2 separate regions of the Homo sapiens genome follow, and region 1 is linked to region 2. The links are contacts of gene promoters, found by promoter capture Hi-C in human tissues and cell types (Jung and others, 2019). All regions are on one chromosome and are shown on one strand. The core of a region is centred on a gene start or on the middle of the fragment in contact, and the rest is flanking DNA. Distances in the headings are between cores, read along the strand shown. Region 1 overlaps CUL1 (cullin 1). Region 2 holds the start of ZNF282 (zinc finger protein 282).

Region 1 (2,784 bases), core at 229-2,728, 490 kb after region 2:
GGAGGTCAGTTTGGTGGGAGAAACCACCAACTACAATCAAAAGGTTAAATACTGTGATAGTGACATAGGCAGGACAACATGGGAACCCAGAGAAGGCTCCTAACCCAGACCAGGACATCAGGGCCAGCTTTCCAGAGATGGTGATGTGTGAGCCGTCAGGTGATAGAAAAGGCAAAGAGTCAGATCCAGAATGGAACTGCAATAGCGCTGAAGCATGGAGTCAACACTAGGAAAGGCAGACCAGTGCTTACTTGGTCCAAGTTTCCCAAGGGAAAAAATTTAACTATCAAACTTAGGCTTCACAACCCTGCTTTTTAAACATGAATACAATACTTAATGTTCTTTAAGACCGTTTTTCCAAAATCCTGTTAATGTTAAAAGCTGTGGCATTCCCATGGAATCCACATACTTTCGGGGCCTAAGGAAATCAACAGTGTCAATTAAAAACCATCTCATTTTAAAAACGAGGAAATATATGCCCTGCAAAGGTAAGCTTGAACTAGACTCCATGTCTTCTCTCCCAAGCAAGATGTTCTATACCTAAGCAAAAATAAATGACTTCAATCTCTCTCCCTCACGGAATTTTTAGAAATGAAACACCTCCATGAGTGAATAAAAAACTTAAGTCATTAAATGTTATAATAATTCTGTTTATAGTGTGTTTACTAAATCTTCATATTATAAACAGGAAACCTCCTATAAACAGGAAATTATGTCCTCAGTAGTAAACATAAGGCTTTTATCCAAATAGGATCTATTTTTCATTTAATGCTCATTTCTTCATTTGGAAGCAAAACAAACACACTGATAAACTACCAAATGTTTTTAAAAAGCAAGGCAACCTTAGAATTGGCCCTTAAAATGGTTAACACTCTTTTCTCCAGACATACCTAAAAGACAAGTTCAAAATGAAGCTGACAGTCCCCCAAAGACATTTTATTCCAGAATGACTCAAGGTCACTGGCTTTAGGACCTACGGAAGGCTGAAACAGCAAAACAAACAAAAAACCAAGTTCCTAAGTTTTTAAGGCCCTAATATTTTTAATTTGAAGAATGGCAAGTAACAACTCCTCAATTTAAAGTACATTCATTTTAATTTTCCATGCTGAAAGACAGACACCACTGGGTATACTGGGAATGACATTCTGATGAATGGCCCTCAGAGACCAAGGGATGGTTCCTCCTACAGCAACTTCCTATCCCACTCCAGCAGAACCATGGGGCTTGCCTCATCTACAAGGAGGAGCCTTAACTACCAAACTGCTTCATTGCAAAGGCAAGGCTGGATACTCAACCTGGGGGGAAAAACCTGATCGTGTTTCCAAAAAAACACCAAACACAAAAAGTAAAAACATCCACACCTTAAAACTAGTTTTAAGGGGGAAAAAAGTTAAAGTTTCACAACCTGTTTTCTTGGCACTTTCCCAGACTTCCATAGGTATAGAAAACCTGGGCATTTTTCTGTTAGGGCCCTGTACTAGATACTGGGGTGTTTCAGGGAGAAGGGAAGTGAAGAGGGAAGGGGGAATAGAAAAGGAGGGATGAGAGAGACGATCAATTTTACTCGAGAAGTGTATAATAAAGCTTGAATTCTTAACCGGCTTAAGCACAACGACTGTGTTTTCTGTAGCCAAAAATCAGCGCATGTTTTCAAACGTTAAGTTTAAGTTAGAATTATTCCAGAAAACTCATTCATTAAAAAAAAGCAACTGAGGCACCACCACAACCAAGTTCTGTTACTCTGGGGACGCAAAAACAAATAAGGAATATCTCCTGCGCTGGAGGAATTCACAATCGGAAATGTATGGGAAATAAGGCTGTCATGTAGTTAATTACAGCTAGAAGATAATATTCAGTAAGTGGCAAGAGTCTAATGAACTGTAATATCTAAGGAAACCATGCAGAATCAGCTCAGGCATGCGTGTCTGTCTTCTGATGTGGTACACACATTAGGAGTGGGGGGTGGGGCTGGCTATAAGGACCTGAGCATGTGGCTCTCAGGGAGGGAGGCTTTTATAAATTGGTGAAAAACCCTAGCATATCTAAATTTGGTTTGTTTTTTGACAAAATCGTTTTTAAAAGATGAAGCCAATGAGAAAAAAAGTTTAACATATTTAGAAAGCAATTCAGCCATCCCTCTCAAGCTTAAGGAACACTCTCCTGAAACCTCCAAAAATGGGCATTAATAGAGTTAAAGCGAGCCAGTCTTGTGTTTGCATGCTTTGGAATTTGAAATGTAACGCAACTATTTCGACTCACCATGGAAAACAACAAATAGAACCTTCAAGTAAAACATTTTTCAATATCCAAAAACAAACCTTCTTTAAACAAAGAAAAATCTCATCTCCAAATATCTTTTTCAAACAGAATGACTGGTTTTACATTTTAAACATCATTACATATTTTACTACGTAATACACTCTCCAGGATTTCAGAAAATCGGGTACATTTTCGGGTGCACCATGAAATGAAGTGTTAAACTTAAAACTGCACACACTTCTGCGAGGCGTTAAGCTATGCTTAGGTCCTAGAAGCTCATGGCTTGAAGTAAAAAAGGAATCTAGTTCCTCTTCTGCCGCTTCGTTAAGTGCATTCCAAAAAGTGTGATCGTTTACTCCACTCAGAACTTTTGACGATTTTAATGCTACTACAGGAAAGAGCAATTACACAGAGCAAACAAATATTTAAGTAGACTGCAATTCAGTATTTGCGCACTTACCACTAACCCCTACTACGAACCAGAAGCAACCAAGAGTGACCCAATCGGAAAAGAGAATCCTCTTT
Region 2 (5,016 bases), core at 2,437-4,936:
AGTAAGATACGGAGTGTGCATTCTGAACTTTAAGAAGGGCCCCCCTGAGATAAGTGACTACGACTTGAAAGCAACTCCAGGCAGCCTGGTTTGAGGTGCGACTCCAGCCACATTCCGGTGAGCATATACCAAGACAGCCAATGACACATGATCGCTGGTAGGTGTCAAGTGGGAAAACCAAGGAGTGAAGAGCTGCAAGAACTTGCAGACAACCAGACAACTCAGAGGGGTCTAGGAACAGCGAGAGCAAAGGCTCCCAGACAGAAATGCAGACTGTGGGGAATGAATGGAGTGAGCCTTGCTGGGGTAGAACGTCCAAGACCAGGTTGTTTCAGTGGAGACAGGCTTTAAGAAGACACTGAAATTGGATAACGGGGAGCCAGAGAAGTTTATGAGAAGGGCTGACAAAATGAAATCAAGAATTTTATGCACCTGTGCTGTTCCTCACCTCTATCCCTGCCCCAGGGACCACCACATACCTTGGGGGCCTCCCCCTTGCTGCCCGGGGGCAGCCGCAGGACCCAGAAGTTCCTGTTGCGCAGCAAGTTCTCCAAGTTCTCCAGCCGCCTCTGCAGCAGCCCGTACTCCTGCAGCAGGGTCCCCAGCACGGCCCACTTGCTCTCCATGTGGTTCCCAAATTCCACGGCCGTCTTTTCACAGTCGGCCAGCTTCTTCTCGGCTGTCCCCGTGCGCCCCTCCAGGTTCAGCAGCTGGCTGGCCTGGGCATCCACCTTCCTCTCCACAGCCTGAATGGCAGCCACCACAGTCCAGAGTGAGATCTCTGCTGTGGGCAACTGGGGCTCTCGCATCATGCGGTCGGGGAAGACAGGTGCCCTATCTGGAAAGGGTGGGAACTGAAAAGGCATTGGCCGCCGGGCGTCCATGTCCCATTCTTGAGCCTGTATGCAGAGGGAGAAAGCGACAACCCAGGATGAGACCTTGTGTGAGCCGGGGAAGTCAGCTGGGAACAGGGGTCAACTAATCAGATGCTACATGTCGTCTTTCTTCTGCCAGGCCCCCGTAACTCAGGATACACTAACACCCCCAGCAACAGCTACCCACTCACCCACCCACCCAACTCAACACTCTCCCATCTCCTGCCTAGGTGAGTCAGGCTGGTCACTGGTTCACCCACATTGACCCTTAGCAAGTTAAGGCTGCAACCCCTGCCTAAAATGTCACAGGCCACTTTCTTTGAATAGACCAACTGATTTCTTCAAGGGCTAGCCTTAATGACGAACTTTGTATTTGCCTAGTGTTTTATGTTTCCAAGAACTTTGATGTAAGTTAGCTGACGCTAATCTTCCCAGCAATCTCTCAGCAGGTTAGGGCAAGAATGATGATCTCTGCCTTAAAGATGATGAAACTGAAGCACAGGGAGGCAGCTGGTCACTCCGCAGCGCCTCCCTGCACTGCCAGCTGGGGCAGCTCTAGATGCTGCAGGTAACAAAAAACACATTCCTGGCCAGGTGCAGTGGCTCACACCTTCCCAGCACTTTGGGAGGCCAAGGCAGGCAGCTCACTTGAGGTCAGGAGTTCAAGACCAGCCTGGCCAACATGGCGAAACCCTGTCTCTACTAAAAACACAAAAATTAGCCGGGTGTGGTGGTGGGCTCCTGTAATCCCAGCTACTTGGGAGGCTGAGGCAGGAGAATCGCTTGAACCTGGGAAGCGGAGGTTGCAGTGAGCCGAGATGGTGCCACTGCACTCCAGCCTGGGCAACAGAGCAAGACTCCGTCTCGGAACAAACAAATAAACAACAAAAAAACCCACCACATTCCTACCAGGGCTGCAGTCAAGGAAAAGACCGGAGAGCCCAAGCTAGGGCAGAAAAGCAGCTTCCCCCCATATACAACTACTGTTTCATAAACATTTTCCAAATTGAAAATAGGTTCACTAAAAAAGGTCACTCATTAGAGGTGAAGAGGGGATGTCCCTCACACCCAAGAGGACCAAGAGAAAGAAAAACTCCTCTGGGACCCCTCCTTGCTTCCTGGGGAAGGGGTGCCCCATGGCCTGGGGACTCCCCCTTTTATCTTCCAGCACAGAGCCCTCACCCCAGAAGGGTAAACTAATTGGTGCAATTGAGAGCTGAGACCTATGGCTAAGGGGGGCTGGTTGAGGCTGGTGACAGTTCACTGGTCATCTGGGACCTGGTGTCAGACTCAGGGCTCACTGGACCACATGGGCTGGCAGCCGACTCTCCTTCACACCTGGGACAGGAAGAGGTGTCATTTTCTGTCCTCCCGATGGCTGCAGAAAAGGCCCTCAGGCTAGGAAAAGGGGAGGCCTGCTGCTTGGGGCGATCTGGGCAGACCAGCCCCACTCTCTGACTCAAGAGCAGCCCTGCTCCGGGGCAGACCTGCTCCGGGACACAGCAGAGTGGAGAGCAGGGCCCTAGGATCGCCAGGCCCTGTAATACCAGTAAGAGGTGCTGGTGTTTCCATCAAAAGCACCCATTCCTCCATCACAGAGGCTCCACTCCGCCCTAGCCCACAGAAGGGGACAGAGTCCACAGTAGAAGTTAAGAAAGTCCCGGGGCCCAGTTTAGTTTTCTCGGGTTTGAAGCCCTAACCCTGAAAATGATCAAACACAACACAGCAGCCCCTGGCTCCCTCGTTAGCACCTGGCTGAGAGCCGCGTGGTGAGCAGAGGGGCCCCTGAGCAGCCCAGCCCCAGGGTGGGCCCAGAGAGTCTTCCCTGGGCAAGCTTTCAGGCCTCTCTGAGGATCCACCTCCCCTGGTTTTATACCCAATTCTGGAGCACCGGTTCTGCCCACGGAGATCATCGATGGAGCCTGAAGAAATGCCTGGTGCTACTCTCACCCGTCAGAGACCCTGAGCTCTGGGACCAGGCAAGGGCTCAGGAGTCTTAAAAGCTGCCCAGGCCATTCCAACATGCGGCCAAGTTTGTCAACCGCAGGAAAGACCCCGAAGTCATCTCTCCATGGCCCCCTCCCTGGATCACACCCGGTGCAGGGGGAGAGTGAATTACTCATTACACTTGGTGAAAGGTGGTAATCAAACATTTAAAAAATATCCCCGTCAAATTGGCCACCGTGTAAACACGAACGAGGCATTCACTTCTGCGGCCGGGCGGAAGCACTGCCCGCGAAGCTCTCCGCCGGCCGGGCGCAAAGGGAGCCCCAAGCCGGGGCTCAGCCACAGGGTCAGAGCTCTGCCAGGTCCCGGAAAGGACGGTCCCGGCCCCCGCCCCGCGGGGCCTCCGCACTTGGGCCCGGCGACCGCTGCTCCGCGCCGCGCGGGCCAGGCCTGCCCTTCCGGGCCTGCGTCGGGCCCGCTCCGTCCTGCCCGCCGCGCAGCCCGGCCGTGCCCCGCCCGCCTCGGGCCTCGCCTGGGCGCGGAAGCTGGGAGGGCGCCGCAAGGCTACCGGAGGACGGCGCGGCCCGGTCCCGCGGCCCAGCCCGCGCCCCGCCCCCACGGCAGCGCGGCCATGGCGCCGGCGGGGTTCTCCCACCTGCATGGGCGGCATTCCCTCGGCCATTTCCCCGCGCAGCGCCGGCTCCTGGTGGCAGACCTCCTCCGGGGGCAGAGCCTGGGCCCAGCTCCAGCTCCCGCTGTCCAGCCCCAGGCCCTGGATGCCCAGCTGCTGAGGCTGCGGCCGTGTTGACACAAACTGCATCCTGGGAGTGCTGTTCCCCGCTCGGGTCGGCCAGGGAGAAGAAGAACGTTTTCCAGGCGCCTTCCCCCTCTCCGGGGCCGGACAGCTCCATCTACAGCCCGTAGGAGCAAACAGTCCCCTTCGGCGGCGCTCCCCGCCCCTTGGCAGCCCGCGCGCCAGCCAATGGCCTCGGAGCTCCTGCCCGCCTGCGGGGACCTACCGGGGCCACTCCCGGACTGGGGTCGCCACCGCCCCAAAACTGAGAGGCGGCGGCCTCGCCCAGGGGTCAGGCCCCCTCAATCTGGGATGGCCGACTTTAAAGGCCCAAACTATGCGAGGACCTGGACTGTGGGCTTGATTACTGTTAATTCTGCAAATGTATTGGGCATCCCGGGAGAAAATAGTGCCTGACCCTTGTGAAAATTTTGCAGGAGTAATTCTGTCTTCAGACACTTTCTTCTGGCCTTCTGCCTTCCCTCACTCCTTTGCAGACTTTACCTCCCACTCCCCTTCTTCCCAATCCAGATTTACCTGGACCCATCCCAGAGCTTTTGCACTGTTATGGATGATAGAGAAGTGATTCATGTTAAGGTGTCAAAAGAGGGCTGAGCTCTTTCTCCCAGGTAAGGTGCAGTGCATTTTAACAGTGGCCTCTTCAAACACCTTGAAATTGGGTTGGGCGTGGTGCCTCACACCTGTAATCTCAGCACTCTGAGAGGCTGAAGCAGGAGAACGACTTGAGCCCAGGAGTTCGAGACCAGACTGAGCAACATATTGACACCCCATCCCTATAAAAAATAAAAATTAGCCGAGCGCGGTGGCTCACATCTGTAATCCCAGCACATTGGGAGGCTGAGGCAGGCGGATCACCTGAGGTCAGGAGTTCGAGACCAGCCTGGCCAACATGGTGAAACCCCGTCTCTACTAAAAATACAAAAAGATTAGCCGGGCGTGGTGGCGTGGGCCTATAATCCTAGCTACTCGGGAGGCTGAGGCAGGAGAATCGCTTCAACCTCCGAAGCGGAGGTTGCAGTGAGCCAAGATCGCGCCAGTGCGCTCCAGCCTGGGCAACAGAGCGAGACTCCATCTCAAAAAATAATAATAAGGCCGGGCGCCGTGGCTCACGCCTGTAATCCCAGCACTTTGGGAGGCCAAGACGGGCGGATCACGAGGTCAGGAGATCGAGACCATCCTGGCTAACACGGTGAAACCCCGTCTCTACTAAAAATACAAAAAAATTAGCCGGGTGTGGTGGCGGCGCCTGTAGTCCCAGCTACTCGGGAGGCTGAGGCAGGAGAATGGCGTGAACCCGGGAGGCGGAGCTTGCAGTGAGCCGAGATCGCGCCACTGCACTCTAGCCTGGGCAACAGAGCAAGACTCCGTCTCAAAAAAAAA

What was found. Contacts are between HindIII fragments. The study calls those that stand out against the background at their distance.
Region 1: a fragment that was not itself captured here is called in contact with the fragment with the promoter of ZNF282 in region 2 in 1 of the 25 tissues and cell types used here (aorta).

Annotation. Positions count from the first base shown.
Region 1 is chr7:148,700,066-148,702,849 of GRCh38, reverse strand. All of the region lies in intron 1 of CUL1 (cullin 1), which reads right to left. Among named protein-coding and RNA genes, the nearest start is that of CUL1, 2.6 kb to the right of the region's middle. The HindIII fragment of the contact is 3,491 bases long and covers 1-2,784 here.
Region 2 is chr7:149,194,216-149,199,231 of GRCh38, reverse strand. It overlaps ZNF282 (zinc finger protein 282), which reads right to left and starts at 3,686. Exons shown (of 8, transcript NM_003575.4): 1 at 3,478-3,686; 2 at 480-899. The coding sequence starts at 3,642. RefSeq lists an enhancer at 2,619-2,668 and silencers at 3,109-3,468, 3,589-3,910, 3,729-4,018. The HindIII fragment of the contact is 19,438 bases long and covers 1,000-5,016 here.